Linked DNA regions of Homo sapiens: all the other regions are linked to region 2. Evidence: promoter capture Hi-C in 16 types of primary human blood cells and fetal thymus (Javierre and others, 2016). All regions are on one chromosome and are shown on one strand. Each heading gives the region's core, a stretch centred on a gene start or on the middle of the fragment in contact. The rest is flanking DNA. Distances are from core to core; before and after follow the strand shown. Region 1 overlaps SUN3 (Sad1 and UNC84 domain containing 3). Region 2 holds the start of SEC61G (SEC61 translocon subunit gamma). Region 3 overlaps ZNF107 (zinc finger protein 107). Region 4 holds the start of LOC105375322 (a long non-coding RNA gene). Region 5 holds the start of ZNF680 (zinc finger protein 680).

What was found. The method cuts DNA at HindIII sites, captures the fragments that hold promoters and counts their contacts. A CHiCAGO score of 5 or more calls a contact.
Region 1: a fragment that was not itself captured here is called in contact with the fragment with the promoter of SEC61G in region 2 in 7 of 17 cell types (naive CD4 T cells, total CD4 T cells, naive CD8 T cells and 4 more); the score reaches 10.6 in naive CD4 T cells.
Region 3: a contact is called between a fragment that was not itself captured here and the fragment with the promoter of SEC61G in region 2, in 3 of 17 cell types (total CD4 T cells, total CD8 T cells and naive CD8 T cells). The highest score is 23.4, in total CD4 T cells.
Region 4: a contact is called between a fragment that was not itself captured here and the fragment with the promoter of SEC61G in region 2, in 4 of 17 cell types (naive CD8 T cells, activated CD4 T cells, non-activated CD4 T cells and 1 more). The highest score is 15.9, in naive CD8 T cells.
Region 5: a contact is called between the fragment with the promoter of ZNF680 here and the fragment with the promoter of SEC61G in region 2, in 1 of 17 cell types (activated CD4 T cells). The highest score is 5.8, in activated CD4 T cells.

What each region holds. Positions count from the first base shown.
Region 1 is chr7:47,991,742-47,994,486 of GRCh38, forward strand. It overlaps SUN3 (Sad1 and UNC84 domain containing 3), which reads right to left. Exons shown (of 10, transcript NM_001030019.2): 8 at 2,574-2,741. Among named protein-coding and RNA genes, the nearest start is that of HUS1, 13 kb to the left of the region's middle. RefSeq lists an enhancer at 204-433. The HindIII fragment of the contact is 1,837 bases long and covers 441-2,277 here.
Region 2 is chr7:54,757,924-54,760,754 of GRCh38, forward strand. It overlaps SEC61G (SEC61 translocon subunit gamma), which reads right to left and starts at 1,288. Exons shown (of 4, transcript NM_014302.4): 1 at 1,235-1,288. SEC61G-DT (SEC61G divergent transcript) reads left to right here and starts at 1,390. Exons shown (of 3, transcript NR_110040.1): 1 at 1,390-1,601. RefSeq lists a silencer at 938-1,257 and an enhancer at 1,491-2,426. The HindIII fragment of the contact is 2,422 bases long and covers 1-1,698 here.
Region 3 is chr7:64,670,962-64,673,708 of GRCh38, forward strand. All of the region lies in intron 1 of ZNF107 (zinc finger protein 107), which reads left to right. Among named protein-coding and RNA genes, the nearest start is that of ZNF107, 6.2 kb to the left of the region's middle. The HindIII fragment of the contact is 4,936 bases long and covers 1-2,747 here.
Region 4 is chr7:64,308,853-64,311,696 of GRCh38, forward strand. It overlaps LOC105375322 (a long non-coding RNA gene), which reads right to left and starts at 1,624. Exons shown (of 5, transcript XR_927582.2): 1 at 1-1,624. The HindIII fragment of the contact is 9,634 bases long and covers 1-2,844 here.
Region 5 is chr7:64,561,518-64,564,350 of GRCh38, forward strand. It overlaps ZNF680 (zinc finger protein 680), which reads right to left and starts at 1,554. Exons shown (of 4, transcript NM_178558.5): 1 at 1,408-1,554. The coding sequence starts at 1,437. RefSeq lists an enhancer at 1,143-1,502 and a silencer at 1,603-1,712. The HindIII fragment of the contact is 20,565 bases long and covers 1-2,833 here.

The DNA of each region.
Region 1 (2,745 bases), core at 109-2,608, 6.8 Mb before region 2:
AGGTTCCCAGGAAGGCCGGAGGAGGGTGTCCATGTGGGGAGCGTGTGGGTGAAAGCGTGAGGGGGAGTGTGGGGGAAAGGAGCCCAAATCTGCGGCTTAGCTAACAGTCATTTCAAAAAGCAGTTACAACGCCTCCACGCCCCTCCAGCCCCGCCTGGCCCAGCAGAGGGCTCTCTTCTTCCTCCCATCTCTAAGACCACTGCCGGCGCCGCCCCAGAACCGCCCACAAGAGCATGGCCTCTGCACAAAGTGGTGACCCCGCGGCCCTCCTCTCCCCAGCAGCTCATGGTGTGGTGGGCCAGGCTGGCACCTCCTGTGCACTGCAGGAGTCCTCTCAGGGTCAGCTCTCCTGATAGCACACTTGTGACTCCCGACGAAATGGCCCGACCAGATGATTCCCGCTGCAAACTCACGACGGATGAGCCCCACCGTGCGCGCAAAGCTTCCTGCCGGCTTTGCACCGCCTAGCAATTCATGTGACAAGCATCACAGACATGGGAGAAAAGTGTTGTACAGGAAACAGAGAGACGCTACCCGCAAGGGGGAAAAGTGGGGCTAGGAAATCCAGACCCGGAAGCGAGCAGAAGAAAATGAGACAAGCCTACAGTTAATATATTCAGAAGCATAAGAGAAGGTACTGCCTTCATAAAAGAAAAAAATATAGGCTCTAAAAAAGGGAATATGTATAGAAACAAGAAGTCTCAGAAAGTATAATCATGACAGCAGGAATGAAAATTTCCGTAGAGGGGTTAAAATGTGAATTGATATGATCTTCCAGAAGGTGGAACAAAAAGCAGAAAAGGGAAAGAAGAAACACTTTTTAAAAATAATAAATTAGACAGTAAGTTGAATCCTCAGGATGCATGAGTGAAATCCCACGACAACAGTTGTGCATCAGGCCTACCTAACAAGGCTGGAGCAAAATGCTGAGGGCGCCAGAGGGATATCTTGGGAAAAAAAAAAGAAAATAAATGAAAAGAAAGTGAAGGAAGGAATAAAGAAAGGAAGAAATTTATAAGTTATCTGATGTGAATCAACATAATGGGGGAATATTTGTACTTCTGAAGAAGAATTTGGGAAAGTTTTAGTAATAGGAATGCAGAAAACTAAGCAAATTAAAGAAAAATAGGCTGGGCACCAGTGGCTCACGTCTGTAATCCCAGCACTGTGGGAGGCCAAGGCGGGAGGATCCTGAGCCCTGGAGTTTGAGACCAGCCTGGGCAACATAATAAGACCCTTATCTCTACTAAAAAATTTAAAAAACAATCCCACGAGTTTGAAGTTGCAGTGAGCTGTGATTGTTCTCCAACCTGGGCAACAGAGCTGAGACCCTGTCTCAAGAAAAAAAAAATGTAAAGCAATTATTACACTCAGAAACATTTAAAAAAATGGAAGAAAGTAGTATTTAAGTACACTAAATAGCTCAACTGAGAGCTGTTTTGTTCACATAGTCACTGTGAAAACATTGAGTATTGCTTGAACAAAAAGATAATACAGTCTTCTAGCAGTGCCTCAAATGTTAAACCTACATTTACCATGCTATCTAGGAATTCCAGTCTTAGGTATACACCCAAGGAAAACAAAAACTCATGTCCACACAAAAACTTGTACATGAATGTTTGTTGAAGCATTATACATAATGACCAAAAAAATGAAAATAATTCAAATGTCCATCAACTGATGAATAGATAAATAAAATGTCATATATCCATACAATGAAATGTTATTCAGCAATAAAAAATAAATGAAATATTGAGACATACTACATCATAAATGAACCTTGAAAACAGTATGCAAAGTTAAAGAAGCCATTCACAAAAGATCACACATTATAAATGATTCAATTTATATGAAATGTATAGAATAGGTAAATTTATTGAGACAAAGTAGACCAGTGGTTGCCAGGGGCTGGAGGAGTACACTAGGGGAATAGGAGGTGACGGCTAAGGGGTATGGGGTTTCTTTTTAGGGTAAGAAAAATGTTCTAAAATTGATTATGGTGATGGATACACAACTCTGTGAATACACTAAAAGCCACTGAAGGGTGTACTTTAAATGGGTGAATTAATTGTTATGGGAATTACATCTCCAGAAACCTGTTTTGTTTTTTAAATTAAGACATAAATATTTTGGGAAGATGGAAGTGCCATGGAAAAGAGTTAATCTTCATTTTCAATGAGAGGATGTCATAATCAAAACTGAAAAATCAGGAAATAATGGCAAAAGCCAACATGGAGGCAAGTACCCAAATAAACATCTAAAATTGTTGCAAGTAGAAGCTTTGGGATAATGAGAATTGGAGATGTGGAGAAGTGGGACAAGGAATTACTGTTTCTTTACAAACTTTATGGAAATATTTGATTTTTACTTATACATGTATAACTTTGATAAAAGTAAAAATAATAATATAAATCATTTGGTCCAACTCTCTCTCTTTGTAGGTGAGAAAGCAGAAGTCCAGGAAATAAGTGACACAACTAGTTATCTGTCCTAGTTCAGAGGACAGCCCCTAATTCCTAGCCAACCACCTTCTATCAGGCCAATCTGAATGACAAATTTAGATAGCTTCTTACATAGACAGAAAATTCCTTGGGTGCACTGGAGATGTTTCCTGACGGAGACACCTTCTCTGAGATGTGCTCCATGGTAACAGCAGTTGGTATGATCTTTGTAGCAAGCTTGATTAGGGTATGACCCTGGGAACCTGGAAAAGCCCAGCACTTTCCAGGGTAGACATCCGGCTGG
Region 2 (2,831 bases), core at 38-2,537:
CTCACTCTGCAGTCCCATCCATTTCTCATTCTACAGTCCCCTCACCGCTCCTAAGGAACCATCAGTGTTGAGATCCAACAATTACTTTCCATATTTTATTTTAAACTACGCAGAAGCCAGTGTCTTGTACAGTGAATGCCAACTACGGTGCTGCAAGAGCCTAGAATAGAGGCAAACGTGAATTTCAACCTTGATTTTTCTAAAACGTGCCAATACAACATACTTTTCTAAAGTATAAAGAATGGCTAAAGGAAGACGCAAATTCTGAGAAGCTACTAGCTAAATTTCAAACTTTTCGATTTGAACACATCTTTTAAGGAAACAGGGCTATATATTTTACCATACAGGTTCTTTTGAGGAATCTATTACCCAATAGAAATGTTATCCGATCTTAGCTTTGAGAGCCACTGCTATAGTAAGTAAAGCAGCCAGGGTGTTATTTGTATTTTCCTCCATTTCCAGTACTCAGAACAGTGGCCAGGTGGTAGTTCAAATCACTGGCTATGGAATGTAAACCTCTGTAAGCCCCAGTTGCCTTCCTTAGTGTAGGGTGTGGACAACGAAATGAAATAATGTCAATGAAACACCAGGAATTCTGCAACGTTCTGGGGGCAAAAACACAGTAATGTCTGTTTTCTCAGTATTTCACTCAACTTTGCTCTTGAAATCCAAAGGGCTTAAACTTTTTGTAATCATAGTTGTCACGAAGGAAGCTAAGAATTCTTTATCCAGAAAAACGCACGCTACACACAATACCGCACTCAATGTCAGGGGTAGAGATCCAAAAACCAACTATGATCTCTCGAACTAGACTCTAGACCAATGCTCTCACTTTAAACCACGGAAGCGGCGGCAGGACCAGAGCTGAGTACAGCTCTTCCCAGACAGGACTCCACAACAGCACACAGAGCCAACCCCGAAGGGATCGGGCAGCAGGACATCATCTTTGGCTGCAGCACAGAAGACGCCGGGGCAGGACGCTAAGCCCTGGAGCCCCGCGGGCCGGCCACCCAGCTCGCCGGGAGTCCGCGGCCCTGGGTCTGCCTTCCGCCAGAGGCCGAGTTGGTGGGATGTCGGCGGCCAGACCCCGGCCCTGAGCCAGGGGACCACTTACCGCCCGCCCCGCGACGGCCGCCCGGGGAGACACGCCGGCTCGCCCACGCCCGCTGCCCCCAAGAGTCGCAAAGGTGTGGCCGCCCCGTTCGCCCGTACCGACCGGTGGGAAGAAACTCACCTACCCAACCGACACCTAAAATGCCAGGGACACGTAGCACTGGAGCTTGCTGATGGAGGCCCACCGGAACCGGAATCCGGGTTTCTGCCAACAGCCCGCCCACTCCTCCGTCCTATTGGTTCCTTACGCGAAACCTCAGTGCGCAAGCGCAGCGCGACGTGCGCCCGGCCACGCTTCCTGGAAGAGATGCATTGCGGAGCTCGCTAGTTGGGGCGTTGGCCTTCCTTAGGAGTGTGAGTCTAGCGTTATCCCTTTTTTCCGGCTGGATCCCGGGTTACCCCACCAGCCCGACCTCAACCCACTCACGTCCACAGCACGAGCCCCAGCGGCCTTGCGCGGTGCTTGCTCTCTAGTAGCGGCTGACTAGGTAAATCCTAAGTTGTGGTTTTTTTTCCTGCGGTCCAGCTTGATGTGTGTCCTTACGGTACATACTTTTTGTATGTATATAATGTTGGTCGAAATGAAGCTTATGAGCAATATAATGTTATGGCCTAATTCAAAATAGTATCCCCACCCCAAACTTTGACTTTGGCTGTCATTCACGGTAATGAATGCCGCTGTAATTGAGGCCTTTGTCAAACGCTAGGTTTGGTTACGGGAGTGGTCATAATGTACACACAGCTCCCCACTTACCCACAAGGATGCATTCCAGGAACCCCCCGCCGGATGGCTGAAACCGTCAGTAGAGACGGGGTTTCACCATATTGGCCAGGCTGGTCTTGAACTCCTGACCTCGCGATCCACCCGCCTCGGCCTCCCAAAGTGCTGGGATTACAGACGTGAGCCACCGCGCCCGGCCATGTTTCCTTTTAGCAATGGAGCATAACGGGATCTGAGGAACAATATAACTCAGGAAGAGCTGATGGAACATTAAGACGTGTTACAACTCTCAGTGCTTCTTAAACTTCTTCAGTAACTGAAATCTCCTGTTAAGTTTTTTAGTAAATGAAATTTGTAACCCCAGAACCTCCAGATATTGATTCAGTGGGTCAGGGTTAGAGGTCACACACCTCCGTATATCTGACTGTAGGTGGTCCATACACACTACACATACCTTGCCTTAGCTTTAAGAGTCACTTTTAAATTCTGAACAGACTGAGATGCGTTTGACTAGTTCTTCATCCCTGGGACTTCAGCCCATGTGTCATCTCCTTAGAGGCCTATAGTGACCATCTAAGGCAATCCTGTCTATCTCATGCTCTTTTTTCCTTTTTCACAATACCTTCTTCATTTGCTGCATAGCATTTGTATTAACATTTATTTATTTATTCCTCGGTCTGTCTCCCTACACTGTAAATCCCCTTACTAGACCATAAGCTCCAAGTGGGTATAATATAGCATCTAGTAAAGTGCTAAACACAGTAAATGCTCAATAAATAATTTTCAAAAAAATAATTCATTCCAAAAAAACATAAAATCACATGTTGGCAAGTTCACCCCAACCACCAAATGTCTGAGTTGACAGTATTTTCAGCAAAACACAGAAAATCAAGTAACACATACAGTGGTTCCCCTTATCCAAGAAAATCTGGTTCAAAAAGAGATGTGTACCAGAAGGTAATCTGGGAGAGGCCACATTCAAATAACTTTCATTACA
Region 3 (2,747 bases), core at 156-2,655, 9.9 Mb after region 2:
TGGGACTGAGCCCTGAATCAGGGTCTGCTGACTCTGGGGTCAGAATTCAAATGTTAAACAATGTGTTAGTTTTGGAGAATTGCTTGGTGTTAAGCAAACTTTACAGATTTGGTGCCAAAAGAAAGATATCACAGAGGCCTGGCCTGGAGTGGAACTCTGGGTGTCTGGGAATGCGACGCTCTACCCTCCTGTACACAGACTGTCACACTGCCCATTGTCCTGTGATTCCAGGTCTCCTTCCATGGTGAGAGAGGACTGAAAACTTAGAGGAAAGGAGGTCTGATTATAGACCCCCTTTTCTCGCAGCTGCCATCCCAGAATTTCCACCCACTCACAAACATACCCATTATACATTGATGTGTCCACACCCCTCCCAGGACTAGGCACCGCCCTTAGGAATTTCACTACAGCATTTTTTTATTCTAGTGTTTTTTGCCAAAAACCCACCAAAGTGTCTACAAGTCTCCTGACATATTCCTATTCCCAGACACTGAATCTGCAGCAGCAGCCTGCTCTCTCCACCAACCAAGGATTCTGGACCACCTGTTCATAATCTCATCTGCCTGCATGGACGCAAATAAATCAGAGGACAGCCCCATCTGGGCCACTATCTGTAGCACAGACCATTCCTCCCACCTACATGGCATTCTCCCCCACCCATGGATTTTTTTCCTTTTAACTTTTATTTCTGTTTTGGAGTACACATGCAGTTTGTTATATAGGTAAAATTGTGTCAGGGTGGTTTCGTGTGCAGATTATTTTATCGCTGAGATACTAAGCATAGCACCAAACAAGTATTTTTTTGATCCTTTTTGTTCTTTTTTTTTTTTTTTTTTTTGAGGCAGAGTCTCGCTCTGTTGCCCAGGCTGGAGTGCAGCGGCGCGATCTCTGCTCACTGCAAGCTCTGCCTCCCGGGTTCAGGCCATTCTCCTGCCTCAGCCTCCCGAGTAGCTGGGACTACAGGTGCCCGCCACCAAGCCCAGCTAAATTTTTTTTTGTATTTTTTAGTAGAGATGGGGTTTCACCGTGTTAACCAGGATGGTCTCGATCTCCTGACCTTGTGATCCACCCGCCTCGGCCTCCCAAAGTGCTGGGATTACAGGAGTGAGCCACCGCGCCCGGCTGGCGACCCTTTTTGTTCTTTCACCTTCCACCCTCAGCTAGGCCTCTGTTGTTCCCCTCTTTGTGTCCATGTGTTCTTATTATTTAGCTCTTATACATGAGAAAATATATTTGGTTTTCTATTCTGCATTAGTTTTCTATGGCTAATGGTCTCCAGCTTTATCCATGTTGCTGCAAAGGACGTGCTCTTGTTCTTTTTTATGGCCACATGGTATTCCATGATGTTTATGTATCATATTTTGTTTGTATTAAATATTTTGTTTTATTTTATTTTTATTATAATTATTTTTGGAGACAGGGTCTCATCTTGTCACACAGGCTGAAGTGCAGTGGTGTGATCTTGGCTCACTGCAGCCTCAACCTCCCTGGCTCAAGCAATCCTCCTACCTAAGCCCTCCAAGTAGCTGGAACTACAGATGTGTATCATTATGCCCGGCTAATTTTTCTTTTTGTATTTTTTGTAAAGACGTGGTTCTTCCACATTGCTCAGTCTGGTTTTGAACTTTTGAGTTCCGCAAATCTGCATGCCTCAGCTTACGAAAGTGCTGTGGTTACAGGTGTGAGCCACCGTGCCCTACCATACCATATTTTCTTTATCCAGTCTACCGTCGATAGGTATTTGGTTGATTCCGTATCTTTGCTATGTGAATAGTGCTGCAGTGAACATGCATGTGCATGTGTCTCTGTGATAGAATAATTTATATTTCTTTGGGTATAAACCCAATTATGAGGTGTCTGGGTCAAATGGTAATTCTGTTTCTAGTTCTGTGAGGAATCACCACACTGCTTTTCACAATGGTTGAACTAATTTACATTCCCACAGGCAGTGTACAAGCATTCCCTTTTCCCTTCAACCTTGCCAGCATCTGTTATTAACAACAGCCATTCTGACTGGTATGAGATGGTATCTCATTGTAGTTTTTCTCTGCATTTTTCTAATGATTAGTGATGAGCATTTATTTATTTATTTATTTATTTGAGATGGAGTCACACTCTGTTGCCCAGGCTGGAGTGCAGTGGCACGATCTTGGCTCACTGCAACCTCTCCCGCCTGAGTTCAAGCGATTCTTCTGCCTCAGCCTCCCGAGTAGCTGGGATTACAGGTGCCTGCCACCGTGCCTGGCTAATTTTTGTATTTTTAGTAGAGATGGGGTTTCACCATCTTGGTCAGGCTGGTCTCAAACTCCTGACCTCGTGATCCACCCGCCTTGGCCTCCCAAAGTGCTGGGATTATAGGCATGAGCCACCGCACCTGACAGAGCATTTTTAAAATTTACTTTTTAGCCACATGTATGTCTTCTTTTGAAAAGCATCTGTTCATGTTTTTTGCCTACTTTTTAATAAGGTTGTTTGTGTTTTTCTTACAAATTTGTTTGTTTCTTATGGATGCTGGATATTAGACCTTTGTGAGAAGCATAGTTTGCAAATATTTTATTTTATTCTGTAGTTTGTCTGTTGATAGTTTCCATTGCTGTGAAATAGCTAGTTTAATTACATCCTATTTGTCAGTTTTAGCTTTTGTTGCATTTGCTTTTGGCATCTTCGTCATGAAATCTCTGTCAGTTTCTATGTTAGAATGGTATTTCCTAGGTTAGTCTTCCAGGGTATTTTATAATTTTAAGTTT
Region 4 (2,844 bases), core at 214-2,713, 9.6 Mb after region 2:
TTTCTTTTTGGAATCTGTTGACTGCTTGGATATAAAATGTGGGGTTTTGACAAATTTTTGCAAGTTTTCAGCTATTGTTACTTTTGCACCCCATTTAATTTTTCTGTCCCTTCACTCTTTCTAGGACACAATCTGCCCACAGATTGTAAGACTCTGTTCATTTTCTTCAAACTTTTTTTACTCTTTTTTTCAGATTGAATAATTTCAATTGTTCTGTCTTTTTCTAATCTATGAATCAACCTAAAAGTACTATTTAAAATTTCATTATCTTTCTATTTGGTTCTTTTTAATAATGTGCATTTCTCTGCTGAGATTCCACATGTATTCATTCATTATGAGAATTTTTTTTCTTCACCCCATGACTATAGTTTTAATAGCTGCTCTCAAATACTTGACTGCTGATAACAACATCTTGGACATTTTGGGGATAGCTTTTAATGCCTATGTTTTATCTTGTGTATGGATAACATTTTTGTGTTTCTTCTCATGTCTCTTAAATTTTAAAATTGTATTTTAAAAACTGTAAATAATACTTATAGAGACTCTGGATCCTGTTGTATTCCTTTGAAGAGTGTTGTTAGTTTTTGAAGAGGGAGTTAATTTGGCTGGATTCAAATTCAAATGCCTGTCTCCCTTTCCGTGGGCACAGCTAAAATTATCATTCGCTTCTTATCCCCACATATATCATATGTATGATATATAGATGTGTGTTTCTATATAATATATGACATTGTATCCAGATTTTACCATTATTTGTAAGAGTAGTGTTCAACAAGCTACTCCACTATTACTGAAAGCCAAAACCTCAATTTTATATTCTTTTTGGATTTTACATAAATGACATTATATAGTATGTATACTTTTACATATACTTTCTTTTGTACATCATATTTGTAATATTCATCAATCCTGCTGTAGATATGTAAGTACTGAGATTACAGGCATGAGCCAACGTGCTCAGCCTAAAATATTTTAGGAGGTTAAGGTGGGAGGATCACTTGTGGCTGGGAATTTTAGACCAGCCTGGGCAATAGAGTGAGACCCTCTCTCTACAAAAAAATTAAAAATTAGCCAGGCACGGTGGCATGTGTCTGCTATTCCAGCTACTCAGAAGACTGAGGCAGAAAGATCAGTTGAGCCCATAAGTTCAAGGCTACAGGAAGCAATGATTGCACTCCTGCACTCCCATCTGGGTAACAGAGCAAGACTCTGTCTCTTAAAAAATAATATAAAAATTTAAAATAATTTTATACATTATGTTAAAATACACATAAAATTAACTATTTTAACCATTTTAAAGGTTTCCATTGAGATGAATTAAGTACACTCATTATTTTGCTACCATCATTTCCATATATAAAAAGCATATTCCATTTTTTGAAACTGAAACTGTACCCATTAAACAACTCCTTATTCTCCCTGTAGCCCCTGGGAAACACTCTCCTACTTGGTGTTTTCTATGACTTTAACTACTCTTAAGTACCACATATGAGAAGAATCATATAGTAAAGAAATCATGAGGAAGAATGATAAAAAATGTATCACATGCTTATTAATTTTCAATAAAAACACCAACAGAGATCAGTAGTACCTGTTGATTATAAATAAACAGATAAATGAGAAAAAGGAATTGGCAGTGTGCATTGTATTTATGACAATGGGGCCTCAAGTACCATAGCAGTGAGTCCTCTGCCCCAGGCACAGGGCTGGTCAGTGGTGGAGCTGGAAGCCCAGTGTAGCTGTCTGACACCCGGATCCCATGCCTAACCCAAATGTCACTGAGCCCTAAGGCACTTCGCTCCTGCTGGTCCAGGCAGTGTCCCCTAAGATTCATCATGGCATGTTCTCCATGGCCTTAAGGAGTTGCTGGCCTACTGGGATAAGCGATCCAGCTGGCAGGACAGGTTGTAGCTACAAGTCATAGAGGCAGATGTGAGGTCTCTATGTAGGAGTCACACCCCTAGTCTCCTTCCCAGTGCCTGCCCAGCTGGAGTGCTGGGCCCCCGGGGTCACCATGCAGCAGGGCCTGACACTGACCAGGGAGCCATGGCCACAGGCTCTTGGCAGCTGGCCCAAAATAAATATTCTCCATAACCTCTGCCGATCTGCTGGACCCTCACCTCTCAGTCTCACTGAGCCACTCCGTTAACTGGAGGCAGACCCAAAATTGCTCCACAGGCTGAAGGTGATAATTGTCTACAGCCAGCTGAAGCAGCTGCATCTCCTGGAGAACTTTGATCTCCTGCAGCTAAAGGGGGGGACAAGTGGAAGATGCGGATAGGAGGGTCCAGGAGACAGGGGATTATGAGATTTCAGGGGACAGGCCTCGAAGGGACACCCAAAAGTGAGTAGTCATCCCCATCACCACCCGACAGCACAGGGTGTTGCCTCCATCCTGGACACATTTTCCAGTTATCTGGTGATGGGAAACCCTGCCAGAAAGGATTATATGGATGGGAGTGAGCCTGGGATGGGCAGGGCTGGAACCAGAATCCTGAGGCTTGGGAGAAGAGAATCAGGACTACACCCTTAGATCTCAGCACTTGGCAAACTTCCTCTCATGAGAGCGTCACGGCTGCCTCTGTGAGCTGAGGTATCAGGCCCCTCTTCCCTATGAATGTTGAAGATTCCACACCAGCCACCAGTCCCTGTTCCCTGAGTGATGAAGCTGCAGAGCTGTCTGCTTGCAAAGCCCAGTGAGGTTTTGCCTGAGCTGGACTCAGACTCTCCCTCAGATGGTGCCAATGGAAGGATAGTAAACTTAGGCCTCTCCAAGGGCAGGCAGCTCGTATGTGGCTGAGCACTTTTGTTTTTTGTTTTTTGGTTTTTTTTGAGATGGAGCCT
Region 5 (2,833 bases), core at 304-2,803, 9.8 Mb after region 2:
AGTGTCCAGGGATTACTCTTTGCTTTCTTCTTACAGAAAATTTTTACAAACGGAAAACAAATCTTTTAAAAAGTACCATCCAATGATTTCTCAAAAAATGATTAATTAAAATATAGTATCAAAAATGTACACTAGGGCCGGGCGCGGTGGCTGACGCCTGTAATCCCAGCACTTTGGGAGGCCGAGGCGGGTGGATTACGAGGTCAGGAGATCAAGACCATCCTGGCTAACTTGGTGAAACCCTGTCCCTACTAAAAATACAAAAAAATTAGCCAGGCGTGGTGGCGGGCGCCTGTAGTCCCAGCTACTCAGGAGGCTGAGGCAGGAGAATGGCGTCAACCCAGGAGGCGGAGCTTGCAGTGAGCCGAGATCGCGCCACTGCACTCCAGCCTGGGCGACAGAGCAAGACTCCGTCTCAAAAAAAAAAAAAATTTACATTAGGCACAGTGGCTCACGCCTGTAATCCCAGCACTTTGAGAGGCCGAGGCGGGCAGATCACAAGGTCAGGAGTTCAAGACCAGCCTGTCCAACATGGTGAAACCCGTCTCTACTAAAAATACAAAAATTAGCCGGGCATGGTGGCGGGCGCCTGTAATCCCAGCTACTCGGGAGGCTGAGACAGGAGAATCACTTGAACCCGGGAGGCAGAGGTTGTAGTGAGCCGAGATCGTGCCACTGCACTTCAGCCTGGGCGACAGAGCGAGACTCCGTTTCAAAAAAAAAAAAAAAAAAATCTAACTCAAATACATTGTTTTTTGTAAAGTATTACATTGGGGGAAATAAAATTCTTGCTTAACCAACTATAAACTGCCAAGTACCCTCCGATTACATAACCAGAAAATTTCCACTTTGATCTTACAAATTAAGAAGTTATGTAACTGTACCTAACCGATTATTGAATTTGGTTTTATTCATCATACACCACTTAAAAGTCTTTCCTTCAAGCCCCTCCCATGGACCACAAATTACAAATCATAGCTGGGTGCTCTACGATTTTTGAACCACTCTTCTATTACATTTTTAAATATATTTGCAGTGACTTCCATGAATTTTTAATAGAAAAAAGGAGGGACTGGGACCCCATGGACCAAAGCGCTTCCCATTTATGAACCCTGCACCCCGAGTTATCGGCAGAGATGCGGCACTGCGGGTGCAGAGCTGCCCAGCGAGGGCTCCAGGCCAAGGCACAGTCACTGCGCAGGGAGGAGACATGACGCCCGGGGTCCGGCTGTCAGCCCAGCCGCCATCTTATGGCTGAAGGGGACTGAGGACCGAGCTGCGCCAAGGACAACTCGGGCCGCGGATTTTGGAGCCCAGTGCTTGGAGCCTGGAGTCCTGCCACAGCCACTTCCGACCGGTTCCAACCAGCCCCTCCCCCTCTCTCGGGGTGTCGGACCGCACTCTCACCATTTCTAGGCTTCCAGGTGGTCCTGGCATCTTAGCTGTGCATCTCCCAATACCTGCAGATAACGGAGTCACAGAGGCTGGGCCTCTAGGAGCAGAATACACAGAGCAGTAAAGACTAGACCTGGAGCTCCCGCAGCAGCTAGAGACAAAGGCCCCGCCAAATCCCGGAAGCCGTCCTGTCCGCTCCAGCTGCGTGCCTGATTGGACGGGTCCCAGCCCCGCGTCCCTGATTGGATAATGTTTAGGGCGCCACCCCCTAATGCCCTGAGTGACAGAATATGTGCTCAGCGGCTGGGCTGAACGTAGAAAGAGTGAAATCCAAGCTGCAGGGTTCTCAGGGAAGGGCTTCCTCCCTGAACGGACCAGGCTCACACCAGAGAGTATTTGCATATAACCCTGCGTATAAGGTCGTATGCCTTTATAAATAATATATTATGTGGCTATTCACACATGAAAATAATGCAATAACAATTATTTAAAATTTTCCAATTTTATGAGCTCCTGGCTTCTTGTCCTTTGAGCGGGTAGCCTGACATTTTTTTTTAAAAAGGCAGTCCTCTGAAATTGAATGTGAGCCACGTGAATTCTAAATTTTCTAGAAGGAAAATTTTAAAAAGAAAAAAAAACAGGAGGAATTCATTGTAGAAATTTAATTAACCCAATATATCCAAAATATTATCATTTTAATATGTGACCAGTATGTAATTATTAACAAAGTATATATATTTTGGAAAAAAAATTAAAACTATGTATTTTACCTTTCTACCACATCGCAGTTCAGACCAGCCACATTCCATGCACCCAGTAGCCACAGGTGGCCAATAGCTGCCACATTGAAGTGCAGCTCTGATGGCAGAAGATGAAATCCTGAACATCCCTTTTCTTTTTTCTTTTCTTTTCTTCCTTTCTTTTTATTTCCTTTCTCTTCTCTTCTTTTCTTTCTTTTCCTTTCTCTTCTCTTCTTTTCTTTTCAAACAGAGTCTTGCTCTTATGTCCAGGCTGGAGTGCAGTGGTGCAATCTCGGCTCACTGCAATCTCCACATTCCGGATTCAAGCAATTCTCCTGCCTTATTTTCCCCAGAGTAGCTGTGATTACAGGCATGTGCCACCATGCCTGGCTTATTTTTGTATTTTTAGTAGAAATGGAATTTTGCCATGTCAGCCAGGCTGGACTCAAACCCCTGACCTTAAGTAATCCTTCTGTCTCATCCTCCCAAAGTGCTGGGATTACAGCCATGAGCCACCACACTGGGCTTGAACATCCTTTTCCTGCCATAAATAAGGGGAAAGTCTTTCCCTACCAACATCTCTCTTCAGTTCCAAGGGTAGAACAGATAGTGGCCATAGAAAGAGCAGAGGACAGCAGGAATAAAATAACAACAGGAAGACCACCTGTTGCCCACCTTTCTTCCAGAGATCAGACAGT